Regions from separate parts of the Homo sapiens genome. Here region 1 is linked to region 2. Evidence: promoter capture Hi-C in 16 types of primary human blood cells and fetal thymus (Javierre and others, 2016). All regions are on one chromosome and are shown on one strand. Each heading gives the region's core, a stretch centred on a gene start or on the middle of the fragment in contact. The rest is flanking DNA. Distances are from core to core; before and after follow the strand shown.

The links. The method cuts DNA at HindIII sites, captures the fragments that hold promoters and counts their contacts. A CHiCAGO score of 5 or more calls a contact.
Region 1: a fragment that was not itself captured here is called in contact with the fragment with the promoter of LGALS1 in region 2 in 2 of 17 cell types (endothelial precursors and M0 macrophages); the score reaches 5.5 in endothelial precursors.

Annotation. Positions count from the first base shown.
Region 1 is chr22:37,744,846-37,749,941 of GRCh38, forward strand. The region is part of intron 11 of TRIOBP (TRIO and F-actin binding protein); the gene reads left to right. LOC124905115 reads right to left here and starts at 2,454. Exons shown (of 3, transcript XM_047441691.1): 1 at 2,277-2,454. The coding sequence starts at 2,294. LOC102724378 (a long non-coding RNA gene) reads right to left here and starts at 1,099. Exons shown (of 3, transcript NR_160697.1): 1 at 774-1,099; 2 at 626-695. RefSeq lists silencers at 959-1,258, 1,599-1,828, 2,049-2,158. The HindIII fragment of the contact is 2,944 bases long and covers 381-3,324 here.
Region 2 is chr22:37,672,556-37,677,497 of GRCh38, forward strand. It overlaps LGALS1 (galectin 1), which reads left to right and starts at 3,081. Exons shown (of 4, transcript NM_002305.4): 1 at 3,081-3,156; 2 at 4,431-4,510. The coding sequence starts at 3,148. RefSeq lists silencers at 2,884-3,023, 4,544-4,942 and an enhancer at 4,897-4,942. The HindIII fragment of the contact is 13,088 bases long and covers 2,359-4,942 here.

The DNA.
Region 1 (5,096 bases), core at 603-3,102, 71 kb after region 2:
TGGGAACAGTAATTATAAAAGCAATAATTTTTTTTTTTGAGAGGGAGTCTCGCTCCGTCTCCCAAGGTGGAGTGCAGTGGCACAATCTCTGCTCACTGTAACCTCTGCCTCCCGGGTTCAAGCGATTCTCCTGCCTCAGCCTTTTACATAGCTGGATTACAGGCGCCTGACACCACGCCCGGCTAATTTTTGTATTTTTAGTAGAGACGGGGTTTCACCATGTTGGCCAGTCTGCTCTTGAACTCCTGATCTCAATGATCCACCCACCTCAGCCTCCCAAAGTGTTGGGATTACAGACCTGAACCACCGCGCCCGGCAAGGGCAATAATTTTTGAACCCCAAATCAAGATGACAGAATAATTGAAATGCCAATTATTCCAAGCTTCCCTGCCTCCTTGCCTAAGGATAGCTAATGAGGGATAAAGAGGTTGTCCTAGGTGCCTTACTTGAATTAACACTTAATCCTTCCAGCAACCTCATGAGGTAACAGCATTACCCCATTTTACAGAGAGTGAAATTGAGCACCGAGAGGTGCCTTGCTTAAGGTAACACTAGGCTGGAATCCCCGTGCCACACGAACTTCCTAGTGCATTTAGCAACCAATTCCACCACGGTCCCTACTCACCTGCAGGAAAAGAGCATCTAACAAACGGCCCAGCGTTCTGGGAACCTGAGCAACGGGTGCACGCCCACACCTGAAAAACCCCAAACCAAAAAAGACCCATTTGTGAGGAGTGGGCATTTGGGAGAGACCCTGCCATCCAAGAACTCACTTTGTGTCCAGCTTACTCGCTAGGAATTCCGCCTCTTCCTGTGTGACCTCGGGCAAATCGGCTCACCCCTCTGAGCCTCCGTTTTCTCATTAGCAAAATAAGACCTCCCTCCCAAGTCTGTGGTGAGGACGAAAATCGACTCTTGGCGAGTGGGACCCGCTGAGTCGTTAGTACTGGGTGCTTTGCCCCGGTCCCCGCCAAATCACGGCGCCGAGCCCTAGCGGACCCATCGCTCCGGGGCCGGGTCGGGAAGCGCAGCCTGGGCGAGTCGTGCCCACGCCCGGCCGCCCGCATCCTCCGCCCCCGCGCCATTGCCGGAGTCACCTGCACCCTGGGCCCTTCCTTCCTCCCAGCGCGCCCGCGGCCCGGGCCCGCCCGCCCTCCGGCCGCCACCGCCCTCCCTTCCCTGCGGCCCCATCCGCCCACCCCGCCGTCCCGCCGTCCCGCCGCCCCGCCGCCCTAGCGCGCCCGTCCCGTTGCGGCAGGTCCCGCCCCCGGCCCGTCTCGCGCTTCCATTGGCCCGCCGCGGCCCCCGCCGCTGTTTGTCTCGGCTTCCCCGCCACCCATTGGCCCGCTCGGGTCCTCCCAGGAAGTTTGAAAAAAAAAAAAAAAAAGTTTTATGGGCGGATGGAAGGGGCCGGGGCAGCGTCGGGGAAAGGAAGGGCCGGAGGCGCGGCGGCGGGCGGCCGAGAGGGGCGGCGGCGGCGGCGGCGGCGGGGTTCCCGCGCCGCGGAGCCCGGCCCGAGAGCCGCGTCCACGTTCCTGCCTCCTGCTCCCGCCGCCCTGGGGCGCCGCCATGACGGTGAGTGCCCCAGTCAGCCGCCCGCGCCCGAGGCCGGGAGAAGGGCGACGACCCGAGGCAGAGCCCAGCCTCTCCCCTCCGGGGCAGCCCCCTCCTCATTTCCCGAAGGCGAGAGGAGGGCTGGGCCGGAAGACGGGGCCACCTCCGAAGCGCTTTCGGCCAGACCGGCCTCACCCTTCCCGCAGGCTCCTCCTCGCCTTCCCTCGCCCACTCGCCCCCGGGAGCCCAGGCGACCCTGAGGGGACGGAACGACCCGTCTCGGGCGCCCCCTCCTCACACTTGCGGCACCAGTCACGGGTGGATTCGGGGCGACCCTTTCCCACCTCCCCTCCAGCCCCCTAGACGAAGACCCGATTCCCCAAGGCGGCCAGGGGCCCCAGGGAGGAGCGGAGGTGGGCCTGGGCTGGGGAGGGGCGCTCGTGGGTGCGGATGGGTCGCGCTGACCCGGGCCTGGGCAAGCCAGCCCTCCGTGTGGCCGCTGGCCCGAGGTCGGGTGGGCGAGAAGTGGCCGGACCGCCCCACCCACAGCCCGGGAGGCAGTCCCGGGACGTCTGAAGCAGCGGGATACCACGTCTTCCTGGGCTTGCACTTTGCAGCGGTCCTGGGGCCTTGGGACAAGCCTGCGAGTCTGAGTAGGGGGCATGATGGCAGGGGTTTGCCTTTCTCATGGGGGTGAGCTGTACCCAAGCCCCATCAATTACCTGTGCCATAGTTAGCATATTGAGCCTCACAGCTGGGTTCGCTGGACTCCCCACTTCACAGCCAGATAAACTGAGGCTTGGGGAGGGGCGCTGGTGAGTTGCCCGAGGTCACCCCAAGTATAAGAGAAGGAGTAGCTCCTTTCCCTGTCCTTCTGGCCCACTGACCGTGATGTTCGGGAAGGGAGGGGTGGGGCTGCTTTTGGTTTCTGGCTAGTGCTTCAGGGAGGCTCTGACAGCCCAGTGGCCCTCCTGGGGGAGGATGAGCAGGGTGTGTGTGTGCACAGGCGGCAGTAGGCCTCTTTCAGGGGAGTGGAGACCCTGCGGAGGAGTGGGTGGGCTGCTGGGGGCGGGCTGGGCTGCTGGGGGGCGTGGCACGCCTAGCCCCTGCCCTGTGAGTGTGATGGCCTGGACTTCCTCGGCGTCCTCCTGGACATCCTGCCACCTCCCTGCTGGCCCTTCCTGTCGTCAGCAGCCTCCCCTTTTCTGTCAGGAGCAGAAGGGATGTGGGGGGAGGAGCTGAGTCAGTGTCCTGGGGCCAGGAGGAGAGAAGTTGCCTTGCCCACCGGGTGCCTGCCCGGCCCTCAGCCGGGTGCTTTCACGTTACCAGATTTGATCCTTGAAGGTTGGTAGTAACATCTTAATCAAACAGATGAGGAAACCAAGGTGTGGCGAGGTGAAGTGTCATGCCCCAGGTAACTCAGTGAGTCCCAGGCTAAGCCAGAATTTGTATCCAGGTCCGTTCCAGCTTTCTTTCACAGTTGCCTGTCCTGGGGGCAGCACGTGCTGAGCAAGGGTAAGGCTGCCGGAAGCAGCGTGTGGGGTGCTTGGAAGATGGACAGCACATCCCTGCTGGTGGCAGCAGCCTTCCTGAGGGAGGTGTCCTCCTGTGATTATAGGGCCTTGTCAGGTGGAGATGGACTAGCGAGGAGACAGCAGTGTGGACAGAAACGGGTGGTCATGTTTGAGAAGTAGCAAGAGCGTAGGGAAGGGGTCTGGGGAGGAGGGCCTCACTGCTAGGGCTTGGACAGGGGCAATAGAGAGCCATGAAAGCTTTTAGAGCAGAGAGGAGGCTATGATCACCATTAATAGTGTTCATTGAGTTCATCCTGGCTGCCATGCAGACCTCAGCCTGCTCTCAGCTGGTGCTCCTCCTGTACCCACCTCACACCCTCCTCCCCTGGCCCCCGTGCCCTGAATCAGGGATCCATACAGAGCAAGTGGCACAGGTGTGTGAGTGTGTGAGGCTCCGGGGCTTCAGGGAGTTGGGATTCTCTTCCACCCCTTTTGCCTTTGCCTGGGTGCAGCTTTGCTCCCGGATCAGCCTTCCCCCTCGCCTGCTGGGCATCAAATTATATTTGGTCCCTTGTTTACTGTCTCTTTCCTACAGTCCACCAGGGCAGGGGCCACAGCTCTTGGTCACAGCTAATTTCCTGGCCTAGAACAGTGCCTGATAACTTTAAAAAAAAATTTTTTTTTCTGCAAACACTCCCTGAGCCCCTATCTGTGCTGGGTCCTGGCAGGTAAACAGTGTATGTCCCTGACTGTGAGTTGCATCTAATCTAGCCTGTGAAGGATAAGTAAAGGGCCTCAAGATAGTCACGGATGCAACAGAGGCCTCTGAGAGGGGCCATGGGAGGGCAGGACGGGGGCGGCTGGTGGTGCGGTGAGTGGCATGAACTGTGAAGGGACCTCAGAGGTGGCCATTAAGCTGGGTCTTAAGGCCTGAGTAGCCGCTTGCCTAGTCATCGGAGGAGGAGGAAGCATAGTGTTTCAGGCCAAGGACATGGCACATATGAAGGGCCCGGAGTCCTGGTGTGTTGTGATCGGCAAGGAATATGCAGTGGTATAAACAGGGGCCCCTCAGCAAGGGGAGGCCAGGCTGGAAGAGTGTGATGAGGCTTCCCTGCCATCCTGAGGCAGCTGGACTTTGTTTTAAAGCCACCTGGAGACCGGGTGTAGTGGCTTATGTGTGCCTGTAATCCCAGCATTTTGGGAGGCTGAGGTGGATGGATCACTTGAGGTCAGGAGTTCGAGACCAGCCTGGCCAGCATGGTGAAATCCCATCTCTACTAAAAATAAAAAAATTTGCTGGACATGGTGGTGGGTGCTTGTAATCTCAGGTATTTGGGAGGCTGAGGCAGGAGAAACGCTTCAACCCGGGAGGTGGAGGTTGCAGTAAGCCGAGATGGCGCCATTGCACTCCAGCCTGGGCAGCAGAGACTCTGTCTCAAAAATAAAGCAAGCCACCTGGAGCCGTCCCTGGAACTGTTAAGCAAGCCTGGGATACCAAGCCTTTTTGAGTGAGTCCCGCCAGCCCGAGGGTGTGTAGAGGGGTTGTGTGCCTGGCCAGGTAGGAGGCGGGGCTGTGAGAACCTGCCAGTACTCCCGAAAGGCGGAAGGAGAAACTGAGCTTCTAGCAGGTGAAGAAGAGGTAGCTGGGCCTGAAGAGCCCTGTATGAAGGGGCATCGTGGGAGATTTAGATGATCGGACCTTTTGACCCTGGGGACAGGTTTCCCTGCCAGTTTAAAAACTCACATTGGTTGGCCGGGCACATTGGCTCACACCTATAATCCCAGCATTTTTGGAGGCCGAGGTGAGCGGATCACTTGAGCTCAGGAGTTTGAAACCAACCTGGGAAACATAGGGAGACCCCATCTCTACAAAAAAAAAAAAAAAAAAAAAATTAGCTGAGCATGGTGGAGTGCTTATGTCGTCCCGGCTACTTGGAAGCTGAGGTGGAAGGATCGCTTGAGCCCAGGAGGTTGAGTCAGCAGTAAGCTGTGATCACACCACCACACTCCAGTCTGGGCAGCAGAGCA
Region 2 (4,942 bases), core at 1,831-4,330:
GTTGGGCATGACATGTAGACCTCCCAGAGGTGCTGCAAAGACCTAGGGAAGGTAACAGCCTGGGAAGAGACAAGAAGGAAGTGAAAACCTTCTGAGCCTCCATGAAAACACGAATCATCTGTTTAGTACAACAGACCTCAGTTCCACCCTGTATTCACCTCGTGCAAGGAAAGCAGGATTTCATCTCCCCAATTTACAGATAGGGAGACTGAGGCAAGTGGGAGAAGCAGCTTGCCAGGAGGCTCTGAGGGGACATAGCAAGCAGGGCCAGCACCCGCGTGTCTAGACTCCCAAATAGGCCTTTCTAGGGACCTCTTCACCATGCCACCCTGCCTCCCTGCCAGCCCCACTCATGCCAGACGCTGCAGAGGAGTAAATTGTCCCTCCATCCAACAGCAAACAGTCCCTGATGCCGGGCCCATTTTCCAGGGTGGAGGAGGATGCAGGAGCAGCTCCTGAGGCTACAAGAACCCAATTATTGGGCTGGGCTGGGAAAGTGGCCACACCCACCCGCCCGCAGCCCGGCGAGGACCACACCTGAAGCGCCTCTGACCCTCGGTCTAGGACTCCGCCTGAGATGCCCCATTCCTTGATCTGGCAGAGAGGGGAGGCATGGGGGAGGGGCAGTGGAACTAGGCTGGGCCCCATCCAGCCCTTCCTATGGTTGAGGTTTTGGGGAGGCCCGGAGGAAAAAGTGAAGCTGCTGTGGTTGGTTTCCAAGCAGCCACTTGGTCTGGAAGGAGGGGTAAGGCACTCACAGGGGTGCAACCCCATCCCCTCTCTGGGTCCGCCTTGCGGCCCTACACACTCCCCTCTCATCCTGTACCAGAGTGGGCTTTGGGCATCTGGAGGAAGGTGCCCCTGAGAGGCAGGGTGGGTGTGTTGGCCTGGCTTCCAGATGTGAGTCACTCCTGGTCCGCATCTTCGTCCCTCTTTGGTGCCAGCAGTTTCAGAAGGGGGACGGCCAGGTGGAGAAGGAGGTCCCCGTGACAACCCCCCAGCATGCCCCTCATTTTGCCCAGTGCTCCCCACGCCCCTTCCTCCACCAGGTTCCTGAGTGTAAGGTGAGCACCCCTCCCACCCACCCTCAATTCTCTGCCACAGTGATCTTCCCTAGAGCCCAAATCTGGCCTCAGTACTCACCCTCCCTCTAGCCCTGGCTCCCCAGCCTCCTCCCATACAACAATGTCCAAGCCCTGTGCCCAGCCCATGAGGCCCTCCATGGTCCAGGTCCTGTTGGCTTCCCAGCCTCATCCCCGTTTTTCCCCCACATGCCCGGAACACTGTTCTCCAGCCCTGGCCTTCTCATTCTGGAGCTTCTGCCCATGGTGGAAAGCCAGGCACTTCTCCGCCTACCCTTCACGACCCACCTCCTTTACTCATGCAGCCGCCAGCCCACCATAGCACTTTCTCATGGCTTCCCTTACAGCCATCATCATCTACTTCTTTTTATTTTTATTTTTATTTTTTATTTTTTTTAATTGAGACTGAGTTTCACTCTTATTGCCCAGGCTGGAGTGCAATAGACTGATCTCGGATCACTGCAACCTCTGCCTCCTGGGTTCAAGCGATTCTCCTGCCTCAGCCTCAGGAGTAGCAGGGATTACAGGCATATGCCACCATGCCCAGCTAATTTTGTATTTTTAGTAGAGATGGGGTTTCTCCGTGTTGGTCAGGCTAGTCTCGAACTCCTAACCTTAGGTGATCCGCCCGCCTCGGCTTCCTAAAGAGCTGGGATTACCGGCGTGAGCCACTGCGCCCAGCCCATCATCTACTTCTTAACGTGGTTGTGGTCAGATTCCACCCCAACTATGCGCTCCTTGAGAGTGGGGACTGGGAGGGGTTCAGCTTTGAATCCTCAGAGCCCAGGGCCAGGTACATAGTAGGTGCTCAGTAAAATACCTGCTGAACACTCAGGGAAGGGAGGGCTGTGCCGGGCCTCAGAGGAGATGTTAAGAGAGCAGACAGGGTGGCCAGGCATGGTGGCTCACACCTGTAATCCCATTACTTTGGGAGGCTGAGGCGGGTGGATCAACTGAGGTCAGGAGTTTGAGACCAGCCTGGCCAACGTGGTGAAACCCCGTCTCTACTAAAAGTACATAAATTAGCCGGGTGTGGTGGTGGGGGCCTGTAGTCCCAGCTACTCGGGAGGCTGAGGCAGGAGAATCAGTTGAACCTGGGAGGCAGAGGTTGCAGTGAGCTGAGATCACGCCACTGCACTCCAGCCTGGGCGACAGAGCGAGACTCCATCTCAAAAATAAATATATAAATAAATAAAAATAAAAAAGAGAAAGGACAGGGTGCACAGAGCCAGGACCCCACCCCCTCCTGGTCTGGACCACCCTGGGCCATCTCCTAAGCTTGACACTCTCAGGCCTGAGGCTGTCAGGCCAGGGCGCTTTGACTATCCCCTGCCTGCCCCTGAACGCGGCCAAGCCCGAGGCCTTAGCCAAGCCCTGCAGCCTCAGGCTTGGCGCCCGGCCCAGCCTTTCTTTAGCCTTCCCGAGGAGCCAGCGAGAGAGCGCTGCAGCAGCCGCAGTCCTTGCTTCCGGGGAAGGCCCGGGTGGGGCCAGGGCCTGTGGTTAAGTCAGTGGCCCTCTGCAGACGCGCACGCAGCAGGAGCCACGCCCTGGTCCCTGCCCGGGAGTGGCCTGGTCTCCCCCAGCTCTGATTCCCTGAAGGACCCTGCACCTCCTCAGCCATCTTCTCTGGGCACCCCCTGAGCCCAGCCTGCTGGCCACAGGCCCCTTCCCGCCAACTTGTGGGCCTAGCTCATCATCAAACTATTTTCCACTGGCTTCCCCCAATCTCTGCCACAGCACAATTTTGGTGGGGAGGTGGAGAGGGATGAAGGAGAATAGGAGGTGGAGCTTGGACTCTGGCCGGGGGCGGCGGGGTGAGGGGGGGCAGCAGCTCGCCACTCTGATTGGTCACCTCTGCTCCAAAACTGGCTTCAAAATTCCACGGACTCCGCCCCCAGTGGCCCCCAGCCCTATCCTGACTTGCAATTGGCTGAACTTTCAGGGGGCGGGGCTCACCCGGTCCGGTCCAGTTAAAAGGGTGGGAGCGTCCGGGGGCCCATCTCTCTCGGGTGGAGTCTTCTGACAGCTGGTGCGCCTGCCCGGGAACATCCTCCTGGACTCAATCATGGCTTGTGTGAGTGTGGGGACCCCCCCCCAAGGTCCAGGGGATAGGGCAGGAACTGATGGCCAGAGGAGAGCTGGGCAGATCGGGAGCAGATTCTAGCCCCAGCTGTGTGGCCTGGAACCAGTGCCTTCTCTTTTCTGGACCTCAGTGGCCACATCTGTAAAATGGGGGTGGGCGCCATGGTCCCTCAAGGCCTTCTCTGCATTGATAATTGTCTGGATTCCTCCAGGGTCTGAAAGCACAGTTATTTCTGCCCAGGGTTGACATTCTGCAGCTCTCTGAGAAGTGAGCGTGGGAAGGGTGTGGCCAACTGGGGGACACCCAGGCCACTATCCCTTTCCCCCTCCTCCACCCCAAAGAGCCTCCTGTCCCCTCCCCCCTGCAGCTGTCCCGGTCACCAGGCCAGGGCAGAGTTACCCTCTGCTCCAGAGAACGCTGAAAAGTTGCCAGGACCCGAGACAAGCTGCCCAGGATGGGCCCTTCTAGGTCGGGGGTGGAGGGTGGTTGTGTCCAGGCTGGTGGCGGGGGGGGCGGGGGAAATTCCCTTCCACCACCCCCAAGCTGGGAGGTTGGGGTGGCAGGGAGGTGAGAATCTTCCTCGGGCCCCAGGGAAAGGGTTCAAGTTTCTGGCAGAAGAAACCACTCAAACCAGTTAACTCTTGCCCACCCACTCGGGGTGCCAGGGAACAGCAGTGCCCAGCAGTTTGCTCAATCTTGTTAACCCTGAGCCAGCCCAGCCACAGCCCGACTGCAGGGCTATTCTCCCTAATGCAGAGAGGCCGTGTTTTTCAGGGTCTCCTCTCTAGCCCCTGGGCCTCTTTGCAGAGAGGGGCTTGAAGGAGAATAGTGGGGTCGCCCGCCCCTAGCCACTTCCTCTCCAGCAGAGGGGCCGGCCCCTCCATTCAGTGTGACGGTGGGCCAAGTGTCGGCCCCTCCCCAGCCTGATCCTCTCCATCTGCGATGGGACAGAGCACCCCATCTCCCAAGTCACTCTTGAGTCCAAAATTCCCAAGCCAATCTGCAAAATCTTCTAGAGCCTGTCTTCTAGAACCTTCACGTTACAGACTGAAGCCAACCCCGGTGGGAATAGGGACTTTCCCAGGACCACATAGACAATCGGAGGCTGGAAATTACAGCTCAATCCTTTCCCCAGGCTTCCCCTTGGCTTGGTCAGAGGATGCCGGGCGGGAACAACCCCACTCCCACCCCCAGCCACCCCCGGACACTTCGAGCAGTGGAGGCCTTGTCCTCTAACCCGGCTGGGCCGGGGCTTGTCTGTGCAGGGTCTGGTCGCCAGCAACCTGAATCTCAAACCTGGAGAGTGCCTTCGAGTGCGAGGCGAGGTGGCTCCTGACGCTAAGAGGTGAGAAGTGAAGTCGGGGTGGTGGGCGGCAGGGACGGGCTTGGTCCAGCAGGGAGGGCGTGGCCGGCCAAGCCCACATCTCCTCCCTGGCCGGGAGCGGGTTAACGGCCAGCCGCCGATGCTGCGTTTTCTGGGTGACTCACTTCCCCCGCAGGGTCTGGGCGCCCCCACCGTTGCCGCCCCCTCCCCCGCTCCCTCCCTGCTGTAGCCTCTTAAACTAAACCAGCTGCAGCCTCGTCATCTGTAATACCTTGACTCCCCCGCCCCCACCCCTTTCCGGTCTGGGCGGGACCTGTCGCTGGGGAGGGCGGGGAGAGGAGTGGGGCGGGCGTCACCGCCGCCTTCCCCCTGAGTCCCTCCTTCCTGCGTCTGGTCATTCATTCATTCACTGGCTCAGTCCGGTCCTTCTTCCTTCACTTCTCATTCACTCAG